Regions from separate parts of the Homo sapiens genome. Here region 1 is linked to region 2. The links are contacts of gene promoters, found by promoter capture Hi-C in blood cells and fetal thymus (Javierre and others, 2016). All regions are on one chromosome and are shown on one strand. Each heading gives the region's core, a stretch centred on a gene start or on the middle of the fragment in contact. The rest is flanking DNA. Distances are from core to core; before and after follow the strand shown. Region 1 overlaps CLUL1 (clusterin like 1). Region 2 holds the start of USP14 (ubiquitin specific peptidase 14).

Evidence for each region. The method cuts DNA at HindIII sites, captures the fragments that hold promoters and counts their contacts. A CHiCAGO score of 5 or more calls a contact.
Region 1: a fragment that was not itself captured here is called in contact with the fragment with the promoter of USP14 in region 2 in 4 of 17 cell types (M1 macrophages, monocytes, total CD4 T cells and 1 more); the score reaches 6.9 in M1 macrophages.

The regions. Positions count from the first base shown.
Region 1 is chr18:620,503-623,202 of GRCh38, forward strand. The region is part of intron 4 of CLUL1 (clusterin like 1); the gene reads left to right. It overlaps LOC105371952 (a long non-coding RNA gene), which reads right to left. Exons shown (of 7, transcript XR_935082.4): 7 at 150-2,700. Among named protein-coding and RNA genes, the nearest start is that of CLUL1, 25 kb to the left of the region's middle. The HindIII fragment of the contact is 4,727 bases long and covers 1-2,700 here.
Region 2 is chr18:157,060-159,831 of GRCh38, forward strand. USP14 (ubiquitin specific peptidase 14) reads left to right here and starts at 1,498. Exons shown (of 16, transcript NM_005151.4): 1 at 1,498-1,655. The coding sequence starts at 1,640. LOC105371951 (a long non-coding RNA gene) reads left to right here. Exons shown (of 4, transcript XR_935081.2): 4 at 1,084-1,110. RefSeq lists silencers at 1,170-1,439, 1,710-1,889. The HindIII fragment of the contact is 8,571 bases long and covers 474-2,772 here.

The DNA.
Region 1 (2,700 bases), core at 117-2,616, 460 kb after region 2:
CAGAGCAAGGGAACTATAGTTGATTCTTCTGGAATGTAGAGGATCCCCTTTTCCCCAAGGTCATCACATACAGTTGGGCACACACAGTATCTGACATATGCATCTCAAGAGAGTACCATGTATATCCAATAATGCATCAGCCTAATCACTTTTTCAAATTCAAATAGCTTTATTTAACAGCTATAGCTTGAATTACATATTTTATCAATGGAGAATACATATTATATTCAAATGTCTTTGGAAGATGTAAAAAATTGTTCATATGCCACAGTATAAAGTTCAGTAAATTTCTAAATTATAGACATTGAATAGCTTGCAGTTTAATGACATTAATAATTAACATCACACTCAAAACAATGACTTTTTTAAAAAAGGTTATCTTCAAACATTACCCTTAAATCAAAGAGGAAATTAAAACTGTAACAAAAATAATTTGGAAAATATTTTCAATTTTAATGTTGAGAGTAAATTACTTTTTAAATTTATTTTTATTTTTTGAAAAATGTTAAGTTGTAAAATACATATAACAAAATTTACCATCATAACCATTTTTAAGTGTAACGTTCAGTAGTGTTAAATACATTCATACTGTTGTGCAACCAATCTCCAGAATTATTTTCATCTTGCAAAAACTGAAAGTCTATACATATTAAACAATGCCCCATTCCCCCCACCCCAGTCAGATTTTTAATTTAAAAATACAAGTGGAAGTTCTAATATTTTCTATCTATCCCTCTATCTATAAAGTTGGGGGCCACTGAATTCCAGATTGCTGCTTACATCTTTTTACTTCTGAGGATCATGGCCTCTGGGAGTCCGTTAAGCAACTGGAGCCGGGTAGTGTGACAGGCTGACCCCAAAGCTGTGTGTCAGCGTCACCGGACTGGTTGATGTTGCAGCCTCACCTACTGCCCTGAGTCAGTCAGGGTTCTGGCAAGGAAAGGAGAATGCCTGACCAGCAGCTGCAAACCCTTCTCCCTTTTGGCAGCAATCAAAAGATTTTGAGGAAATCTAAAATAGCTCCTCATCAGGAAAATGTGGAAGCCCCTCCAGCTGGGATCTTCCCTGGTGGGCTTGTGAGCCTGGCCATCTGGGAATAGAGACACTAGATAGCACTCATACACTCTTCACAAAACACATTATCACATGGAATGTTTTGAACATCTGGGTAAACCACTACTTTCATTTTATAGCTAAGAAAACTGGGGTTTGAGATGTTTGTTAATTAACATGTTACTCCAACACTGTAATGAATGAACTGAGATAAAGTCAGCAGATGTGTGCACGGGGGACCCAGTGATTTTCCGCTTTTCTCACTTCCCTGAACCTCCTGGCAAGGAGGACAGGGTATACAGCTTTAACAAGAATATTCCACTTTGGGTGGGTCAAGTAAGCAAATGTGGATTTCACTTCTGGCCCTGAAGAATCCAAGCAACTAGTAGAATTTTTGTTTATTCTTAAAAATCTTATTGTACAAAAATTCATTGAATTATACTCTTAAGTTTGAGGCACTCAATTAGAAAGTTAATCGGAAAAAAAAAATCTGTTTAACCCTGAGTATCCCTCCCTAAAATTACTTAAAGCCTAGAATAAAGGTCAGTTTAGACAAATTATGAATTGGCAAATATGGTGTTAGCAACCCTAGTCTCCCAGTATTGAGCCCCACCCATTCTCAAGAGTACTGCTCAGTGGTGACCCAGCATCCTCACTGTCCCCTTCCTCCACCCCTCCTTATTAATATTTAGTGAGACTATCTGAAACTTATTAAGTAGGAAACCCTAGAGAAGGTTAGAGTGACTTGACCTCCAAATCAGGTTTTATTTGTATGTGTTTTTAATGAAATGGGGTCTTGCTATGTTGCTCAGGCTGGTCTTGAACTCCTGGGCTCAAGGGATCCTCCTGCCTCACTTCCCGAGTAGCTGGGATCACAGGCACTAGCCACCATGCCTGGCTCAATGCCAGGTTAATATAGCGCTTTTGATAAACTGTCATCTATAGGAATAGAGTTATAAGCGTGAATCTGCCAGTTGGTACAATGTCTAGCAGGAAACGGAAGGCGTCGATAGGATATTCCTTAGGAATGTTTACTAGACAGAGGTCTACTTCTTCCATGGCAATGTTTCACTTCCAAAACTTGGGACCTGTGATTTGGTAACTGTTTTTTGTCCTGCTTCTGGGCAGTGAATGGAAGGAAGCCTGAGAGATACTAGTTATTATACTGGACTAGTTATAATAACAGATGTCTTGCCTATGATAATGGATACTAGGTATAATAATAGATGCCTTGCTTGTTTAGCTCATTTAATGCAAAGACCTTGAGAAGTAGATACTGTTATTCCTATTATTCTTATTTGCAAATGAGGAGACTAAGGCTTATATGTATTAAGTAATTTGCCCAAGGGTACACAGCCACTGTAGTTTGGAATTGGGAATATTAGGATTTTGGCTTATGAGGACAATGAGCAGAATATGTAAAATTGGGACTGATTGAGAAAATCCTGGAGGTATTGTTACTTGCCTTGGAGAAACAACTTTTTTTTTTTTTTTGAGACAGAGTCTTACTCTTGTTGCCCAGGCTAAAGGACAATGGCACGATCTTGGCTCACTGCAACCTCCGCCTCCTGGGTTCAAGCGATTCTCCTGCTTCAGCCTCTGAAGTGGCTGGGATTACAGGCACCCACCATCATGACCAGCTAATTT
Region 2 (2,772 bases), core at 248-2,747:
GTCTCAAAACAAACAAACAAAACTTTACTGCTAAAAAATGCTAAGGATCATCTGAGCTATCAGTGAATCATCATCTTTTTGCTGGCAGAGGGCTTGCCTTAATGTTGATGGCTGCTGACTGATCAGAGCGGTGGATGCTAAAGTTTGGGGTAGCTGTGGCAATTTCTTAAAATAAGACAATAATGAAATCTGCCACGTCGATTGACTCTTCCTTTCATGAAAGTTTTCCCTGTGACATGCAGTGCTGTTCAGCATTTTACCCACAGAAGAACTTTCAAATTTGAATTTCTTTCAAAATTAGAGTCAATCCTGTCAAATTCTGCTGCTGTTTTATCAACAGTTCCATAGTTTATGATATTCTAAATCCTTTGTTGTCATTCAACAGTGTTCACAGCGTCTTCACCAGGAGTAGTTTCCATCTCAAGAAACCACTTTCTTTGCTTATCCATAAGAAGCGACTCCTTGCCCATTAAAGCTTTGTCTTGAGATTGCAGCAATTCAGTCACATCTGTGGGCTCCACTTCTAATTCTAGTTCTCTTGCTATTGCCACCACACCTGCAGTTGTGTCCTGAACTCAAGCCTTGAACCCTTGTGGGAAAAGACTTGTTGCCAGAGCAGTCAGAATACACAAAACATTGGAGTTAGCTGTTTTACACGGGGGTGGTTAGTGGCACCCCAAAACAACTAAAATAGTAATCATAGATCACTGGAACAGATATAATAGTATTTAAAAAGTTCAAAATATTGTGAGAATTACCAAAATGTGACACAGAGACACGAAGTGAGCACATGCTGTTAGAAAAACAGAACTGATGGACTTACTAACCCAGGGTTGCCACAAACCTTCAATTTATATATATATATATATAAATATATATAAATATATAAATATATATAAATATATAAAAATATATAAATATATAAAAATATATAAATATATATATATAGAACGCAATAAAATGAGGTGTGGGTGAAAAGAAAACTGAGGTTTGCAGACATCATACAGCTAGCTAGTAACAGCTGGGTTTCAAAACACCTCTGACTTTACAACCACTAATTTTATTTATTTTATTTTGAGGCAGGGTCTCGCTCTGTCGCCCAGGCTGGAGTGCGGTGGCACGATCACAGCTCACTGCAGCCTCGACCTCCTGGGCTCAAGCGATTCTCCCGCCTCAGCCTCAGACAGCAGGTGGGATACCAAGTTCCCACTTCATCTGCCGCAGGGCTGGGCCGCGCCAGGACCACGTGGCCAGTGCGCGCAGGGCGATGGGCGGCAGTGCGCAGGCGCGCACCTGCTGCGGTGGATGGGGCCCCGCGCCCGTCCCTCACTTGCTCCCTCCTTCCTTCCCGCCACCCCTCCACCGCCTTCCCCCTCCTCCCTCCTCTCGCCACCTCTAGGCCCCGCCCCGGTCCTGCCGCCCAGTCTCCTCGCTGCAGTCGCTCCGGAGCTGCACGGGTGTTTTGCGTGTTGCTGCGTCATCGCCAGTGGCCGGTTTGAATGAGACTCGTCGCACCGAAGCCGCCGCCACCACCGCGCCTCCGCCTCGGCCGCCGCCGCAGCTGCTCCTGGTCCCCGTCCCTTTGCCGCCCTCGTCAGGCCCAGCTCTCCTGCGCCGCCGCCTCCCGCCGCGCCCCGCCATGCCGCTCTACTCCGGTGAGCCCTGTCCTGGCCTCGCGCGCAGCACACCGGACCGGCGCTAGGCCTCCGCGTAGGCCTGGCCTGCACGGGCGGGCACCCGGCATGGACTGGGAGGGGCCGGGGTGGGGTGCGCGGGGCCGGCGGCGCGGAGATGACCCAGGCACCGTCCCCTCTCCCGGCTGGGTCGGAGCCCTGCGTGGCAGGGGAGCGCCGTCCCCCTGAGCCACCGATGGGTGGGGGGAGTGGAGATGGGGAAGCCTCTCAAAGTCGTGACTCTGCAGAATAGTTTCTGACGCTGCCCTGGTGTGCGGTGAAAGTGAGGGTGTGTCCTGGGGCGCTGGGCCAGGCTGGAGGTGCAGGGAGATTCCTTTGGGCTTCTCAGTGGTCGCCGTGGAAGGGAGCGGGGAAGAAGGGGAGGGATGGAGCGACCCTTCTTGGGGTTGCCAAGCGGCGTTCGCCGCCCTTCGTCGTCCTTCGCCCTTCTCTTGCCCCTTGCCTTTGTTCGACCGCCCCTTTGGTACCAGTTTTAGTTTTGTCCCGAGGCAGATTGTAAACCTTTTTGCTTCGTTTTCGTTTCATCAAACGTTGCATTGGATTTCTGTATCCGAAACGTGGTGTGAGCTTTCAGAAGTAGATGAATACACATATCCCCGGGGTGTCATTTCTTGATTGGCGTTTGACAGGGGCTTGTATTGTTTGCTTGCTGACAGTCCAGGGTACTGGCCAGGGATCACTTTTACTTAGGGAATGGACCTTGCTGCTCCCTAGCCTTATTCAAAATGGCACCTAAAATATGTGTGGTGTCTCCAATTGGCTGTAGGTGTGTGATTCGTTGACCATCCCTGTTTATTCTGTTACAGTTCCTTTATTGAAGATTCAGCATTTACAAAGCATGATACGAATCAAGAGTATTGTTTGATCTCAAGGTGGATTCTTGATGGTCTAGAATCTTGAATCGAATTCTTAATGATTGCCCAACCCCTTTCTAAAGCCATAACAACAGTAGAATGGCTCTTGAAATATTCTAATACTTAAACACACCAGTAGATTCACACACATAAAACAAAACCCCTCTGTTTCCTCAAAATGCCAGCGCTGACCAGAGTTTCTTTTTTAAAATTTGAGCTTTATC